Linked DNA regions of Homo sapiens: region 1 is linked to region 2. The links are contacts of gene promoters, found by promoter capture Hi-C in human tissues and cell types (Jung and others, 2019). All regions are on one chromosome and are shown on one strand. The core of a region is centred on a gene start or on the middle of the fragment in contact, and the rest is flanking DNA. Distances in the headings are between cores, read along the strand shown.

Region 1 (2,932 bases), core at 258-2,757, 180 kb before region 2:
CAGGGCCCTTTTGACCCATAGTCTCAAGCACTCTGTTGTGAGGTGGTCCTTATTTGGGTTAGTTTGTGTACCTGCTTATTGGCTGTGTCTCTCTAGAGGGTAAGCTTACTGCAGGCAGGATCTGCCACATTTAGGGCTGCTGTATTTGGTGCCTAGCACAGTGCCTGGCACATAGCTGGTGCTCGGTAATCATCTGTTGATGAGATGAATGACCGAGACAGGATACAGACCAAATGCTGGCTCATGAGGCCCTGGAGAGAGGCAGAGCCTCCTGGAGGCCTGGGTTCTGGACCCCACCACCCACTTATTTTAGCTGCCTTCTTCCTGACTCAGATTTAGTTTCTCTAACAGGAAGAGTTCAGATGCTTGTGTCAGAACGTGTGTTGTGACTTTGTGATTTTGGCATGTTACATGCAGGTTAAGAAAGCTGGACCCTGAGGAGGAAGATGATTCCTTTAATAACTATGAAGTCCAGTCAGAAGCCAAACTGGAAAGCTTCCCAAGCATTGGGCCTCAAAGGCTGTCATTTGACTCAGCCACATTCATGGAATCTGGTAGGAATCGAGCAGTGTGACCATTCACTTTGGGAATTCTTCTTCCCACTATCCTATAACCTGCTTATGTTTTGTTCTGGGAGAATGGTTCTGGGGTGTTTTTTAGTGTGGCCAAGAGTCTGCCTGGATTAGTCTTGGACCTAAGCCCTGTGGTCAGCTTGGAGGTCTTCTGAAATGTCCAGGCTCATACTTGCTATGCTTTCTTATGGCCAAATTCAGAGACTTCGCTTTGCAAATTGAATCTATATAAGCACACCTGTTGAGTGTGTATCAGTGTATAACTGTTGAGTGAGATTAGTGCACATGGCAGCACTTGGAGGTCTGCCCTTTTGATGTCCACCTTAGATACGGAGATTCAGAGAGGCTCAATCATAGCTGCTGAGGGTTGGAGCCAGGCATTGAACCCAGTAGCCTGATCTCAGCACCACAACGTGGTATCATGTCCACCTGGATCAGATGGTAGAGGGAGGGAACAGTCTTTACTGTCCCAAAGTAAATAGGAGACCCTGGCATGGAAGGTACTCTTTATTCAAGTCAGGTTGTTCTTGCTCCCCGGGCAGAAAAGCAGGACGTGCATGAGTTCCTGCTGGAGAACCTAACCAACGGGGGCATCCTGGAGCTGATGATGCGCTACCTGAAAGCCATGGGCCACAAGTTCTTGGTAAGGTGGCCTCCAGGCTTGGCGGAGGTCGTGCTCAGCGTCTACCACAGCTGGAGGAGGCACAGCACCAGCCTGCCCAACCCGCTGCTGAGGGACTGCAGCAACAAGCACATCAAGGTTAGGGGGAGCCTCTCAAGGGCTGGTATTGAACTGGGACCAGGGCATGGGGACAGGGATCTTGCATGGGTGTGGGGCTGCTGTTGTGTTTGGCTGCATCTACTTGTGGGCCTGGAACCTGGTTTTTTTGTGGGTGTCGAAGCAGGAAGTCACTGAACCTAGTTTGTGCCTAGAAAGCTCCCTGATGGCTGAGTGGAGGATACACTTAGGGGTGAGAGTGGGCTCACGGGGCTATCAGGAGGCTGCTGCCATGCCAGGGGAGCAGTGGCTGAGATCCAGTGGTAATAGTGGGGTGCTGGTTTGTGGTTGCAGAGCTGATAGGTTGAACTAGACATGGGATGTGTGAGGGAATGAGAGTCATGGGGAGGGCTTCTCGGGTTGTTTACTGAGTCACAGGAAGCCTTGCCAGGAGAAGCTGGAGGAAAGGGAAACATTTGGTTTGTTTGAGTTGGCAAGGACTGTGACTGAGGCTTTTGTTGTTGTTGTTTGAGACAGGGTCTTGCTCTGTTGCCTAGGCTGGAGTGCAGTGGTGCAGTCACGGCTCACTGCAGCTTCAACCTCCTGGGCTCGGGTAGTCCTCCCACCTCAGCCTTCAAAGTAGCTGGAACCACAGCCGTACACCACCACACCCGGTTATAGTCCCAGCTACTCAGGAGGCTGAGGCAGGAGAATGGTGTGAACCCGGGAGGCGGAGCTTGCAGTGAGCCGAGATGGCGCCACCGCACTCCAGCCTAGGCGACAAGGCGAGACTCTTGTCTCAAAAAAAAAAAATTTGTTTTGTTTTGTAGAGATGGGGGTCTCCTTTTGTTACGATGTTAGGATGTGGTCTTGCCATGTTGCCATGTTGCCCAGACTGGTCTGGAACTCCTGGGCTCAAGTGATCCTGATGCCTTGGCATCCCAAAGCACTGGGATGACAGGCGGGAGCCACCATGCCTGGCCTATGACTATTTTTAACAGATGATAAAACAGCAGAAGCTAAATAGCGTGCTTAGAGAAGCTTTGGGGGCCACCAGCAGTAGGGGGCTGAGCCTCACTGAGCCTTGTCTTCCTGCTGCATTCCACACCCCAGCCTCCTCCACTTGGTGCCTCCTGGAGCTCAAGGGAACACAAGGTGCTCTGGCCCCTTACTCCTGTTGGAGGTGGGACACTGAATGCTGAAGCAGGAGCACCAGGAACATTCAGGGATGCCTGGTGGTCTTTCTGACTTGAGAGCACAGGAGGTAGAAGAGCTTGTAGGTCAGTCATCCCTTGGTGGGCACCCTCCACTGAGTTACCTCAGGGCAACCTCCTGGCAGCTTCTGCCCACCAGGCCATGCTCCCCTGGGGCAGTTGTGAAACAGCAGGAGGAACCAGGGCTTTGATCCCCAGGCAAAGCAGGCTGATGATCACCTTCCAGCTGTGCCCAATGGGCAAGTGCCTTCTCATCACTGAGCCTCAGCTTCCTCAAGTGCCCTGGGAATGGTATACCAGCTGCCCAGAACTTTTAAGGGTTGAGTTCTATAATTTGGATGCAGTGTCCGTCCCAGCACTTGGCAGGTGACAGGGCTGCCTCTTCAACAGGACAAGAACTCTGAAGACCGGTCTCCTGGCCTCTCCCA
Region 2 (2,700 bases), core at 8-2,507:
GGCCCTGACTCAGGGAGAGAGGATGTGAGGGGTGGGGCACCGGGCTCCTCAGGACTGAGAGACCCGAGATGTGGCCCCAGGCTGGGTGTTGGGGCAGACTGGCTATGGCAGCATTGTGTGTACCCCAGCAGGCCAGTACCCACGCAGGGAGCCTCCAAACCCCTTCACCCATGACCCTGGGAGAAGACCGCAGCCTTGGAGAATTGGCCTCACTGAAGGGGCCTGCACCGGCCAGCAGGGTCAGGCGGGGCCAGACAGGTTCCCACCTGGGATATGCAAATGGGCCTCCTGAATCCTGGAGCCAGGCGTGGACTCACACACCACCATTGTCCCCAAGTCCCCATCTGCCCCACGAGCACACCCTGCCACCTGTTCTGTGCAAGGGCCCTGAGGCTGCCTCCTTGCGCCCAAGACCTGCAGGTGCTGAAGCCCACACACACACGGCTCCTGCTTCCTGGGCCAGTGCACGTGCACACACACACACACACACACCCACCCACACATACACATACCCACACACAATCACACACATTCACACACACCCACACTCCCCACACTCACACTCACATACACTCACACACACCCACACATGCATGCAATCACACATACCCAGACACTCACACACACACCCACACATACATTCACTCACACACACACACACACACACGCCTTCTCCAGGAGGGGCTGGCTGCCAAGGGCCACCCAGCTTCCTCCCACGTCTCACTCACCGTCCAATATCCGAGCAGACCTTGGAGTCGGCGGCAACAGCAGCGTGGGCAAAGGCCTGGGGGCCACATGGGGCCTGGTGTCGAGAGAGGACCACAGCCAGCACAATGACAGCCAGCGCCAGCCCCAGACCCAGCAGGACTAGGCTGACCGTGGCCCCGTAGCCCCGGGCCATGGCTCTGCAGCCCAGGAGGAGAGGGGCGGCTGGTGGGCAGACGGAGGGACGGATGGGTGGGCAGATGAATGGACAAGAAGATGCACAGAGTCACAGGTAATTGGACAGATGGACAAACAGGTGGGGGCTGAAGACAGACACGAAGATGGATCGACAGATAGGCCAGATAGCTAGACAAAGAGGACAGTAAGAGAAAGATGGTCAGATAGACAATGGGACAGAGATGGGCTTACAGATGGGCGGACAGACAGACAGGTCTGAACAGCGGGCTGCCAGATGGACAGATGGGTGAATGGACAGATGGCTGGCAGCTGTGGCGAGCTGCTGCCCTCACCAAGTGCACACTACGGAGTGGCCAAACTCACGCCTCAACTTCTGGTTTTCAGCTCCTGCTTGTTGCTGGCAGGAGGCCAGGCAGCAAAGCGTCTGAGGGGAGTTTTCCTTGCCTAGAGGAGTCAGCTGCTGTGTTAACTCCCTCACTGCTAGTAGGTCCAAAGGCCCCACCTACCGCCCGCCAGAGCCCAGGGTCACACTGTCGCAATGTGCAGGAGAACTTGGTGCCTGCTGCACTGCGGTTGCCAGGTAGGGGCAGGGCTCCCTGGAACCTCCACACCATTCCCCGGGTTCCCGGCAGCTCTGGGAAAGCAGAGCTGGGGCCGCTCAACTCTCTCCCCTGGATCCGGCAAGGCTGCCCCCCTCCCAGAGTGGAGCCCTGCTCCCCAGCTCCCATCTCTATCCCCTAACCCTCTCCTCATGGCCCAGCCTAGTCAGCATCAAGGTGGAGCTGAACAGAGGCAGAGGGAGGGGGACACAAGGTGGTGTCACTTAAAACTTGGGTTCAAGTCCTTATGCTTCTGCAGCCTGGCCTGGGTCCCACAACTCCCCAGGGTGGCCAAGGGCTTCCCAGTCTGCACAGAGGACAGGGGGACTTGACAGCATCAAATGCTGGTGACTACAAGACGCCCATGTGGGGAATGCAGACAGACCATGCCTCTAGCCCTTGGCATCCGGGACCATTTGTCCAGGACTTGCTGTCCTGGAAATGCAGCATGGACCTCCAGGGAGGGAGGCTGTGTGGAGGCCACGCCCTGCCTGTAGCTCTTTCCCACCCTAGCTGCGGGTCTGCTTCCCTGAATCCAAATCCGCTATTACTGTGCTGGCAGCGCAGCCTCTCTAGGGACACTGGCCTGGCTCTGTTCTCCCCAGGCCTCAGGGTGCCTAAATGGGAGGCAGCCAGGAGAGTGAGGACCCACTGAGGGGCTCTGTTGACCAGGCTCAGCAGGGGTGCAGGTGATGTGGGCTGGACTTCTTCCCACGTGGCCCCCACAGTCCTCCCCGCTTCCTCCCCAGCTGAACACTGCCTGCTCCAGATGTCTACACCTGGAAGCCGGGCCCCCCCATCTGGGCAGCAGAGAAACTGAGGCACAGAGACAGACTGTGTCCTTACAGGCCACACAGCCTGCCAGGCCCCTATGTCCAGCCAGAGCCCCTGGTCAGCCTGGACTGGAATGATTGTTTAGAGGCAGGCTGTTCCCACGGCTGCCTCTCGCGGTGGGGGGCCTGTGGATGCCTCCTCCCGCCCCCACCCGACTCCCAAGCCTCAGTGACATTGCTCAACCAGGAGCTGAAGTGCATTCCTGGGCTTAGGCCAGCCCACCCACCCACCCGCTGCAGTCCTGGAAGCTCAGAGGCCTGGGCAGCAGGAACAGTGGAGACAGCAGCGTGGGGGACGTCCCCCCTCCTCTCCCCACCATCCTGGTCAGGCAGAGGCCAGGGTGCAGGGACCGCCTGAGCAAAGG

Evidence for each region. The method cuts DNA at HindIII sites, captures the fragments that hold promoters and counts their contacts. A contact is called where the count stands out against the background at its distance.
Region 1: a contact is called between a fragment that was not itself captured here and the fragment with the promoter of GGT5 in region 2, in 10 of the 25 tissues and cell types used here (aorta, bladder, dorsolateral prefrontal cortex and 7 more).

Annotation. Positions count from the first base shown.
Region 1 is chr22:24,058,810-24,061,741 of GRCh38, forward strand. CABIN1 (calcineurin binding protein 1) reads left to right here. Exons shown (of 37, transcript NM_012295.4): 11 at 418-554; 12 at 1,115-1,332. Among named protein-coding and RNA genes, the nearest start is that of CABIN1, 49 kb to the left of the region's middle. The HindIII fragment of the contact is 4,065 bases long and covers 1-2,932 here.
Region 2 is chr22:24,243,825-24,246,524 of GRCh38, forward strand. It overlaps GGT5 (gamma-glutamyltransferase 5), which reads right to left and starts at 1,258. Exons shown (of 12, transcript NM_004121.5): 1 at 729-1,258. The coding sequence starts at 901. RefSeq lists enhancers at 39-594, 595-1,150, 2,263-2,700. The HindIII fragment of the contact is 14,830 bases long and covers 1,053-2,700 here.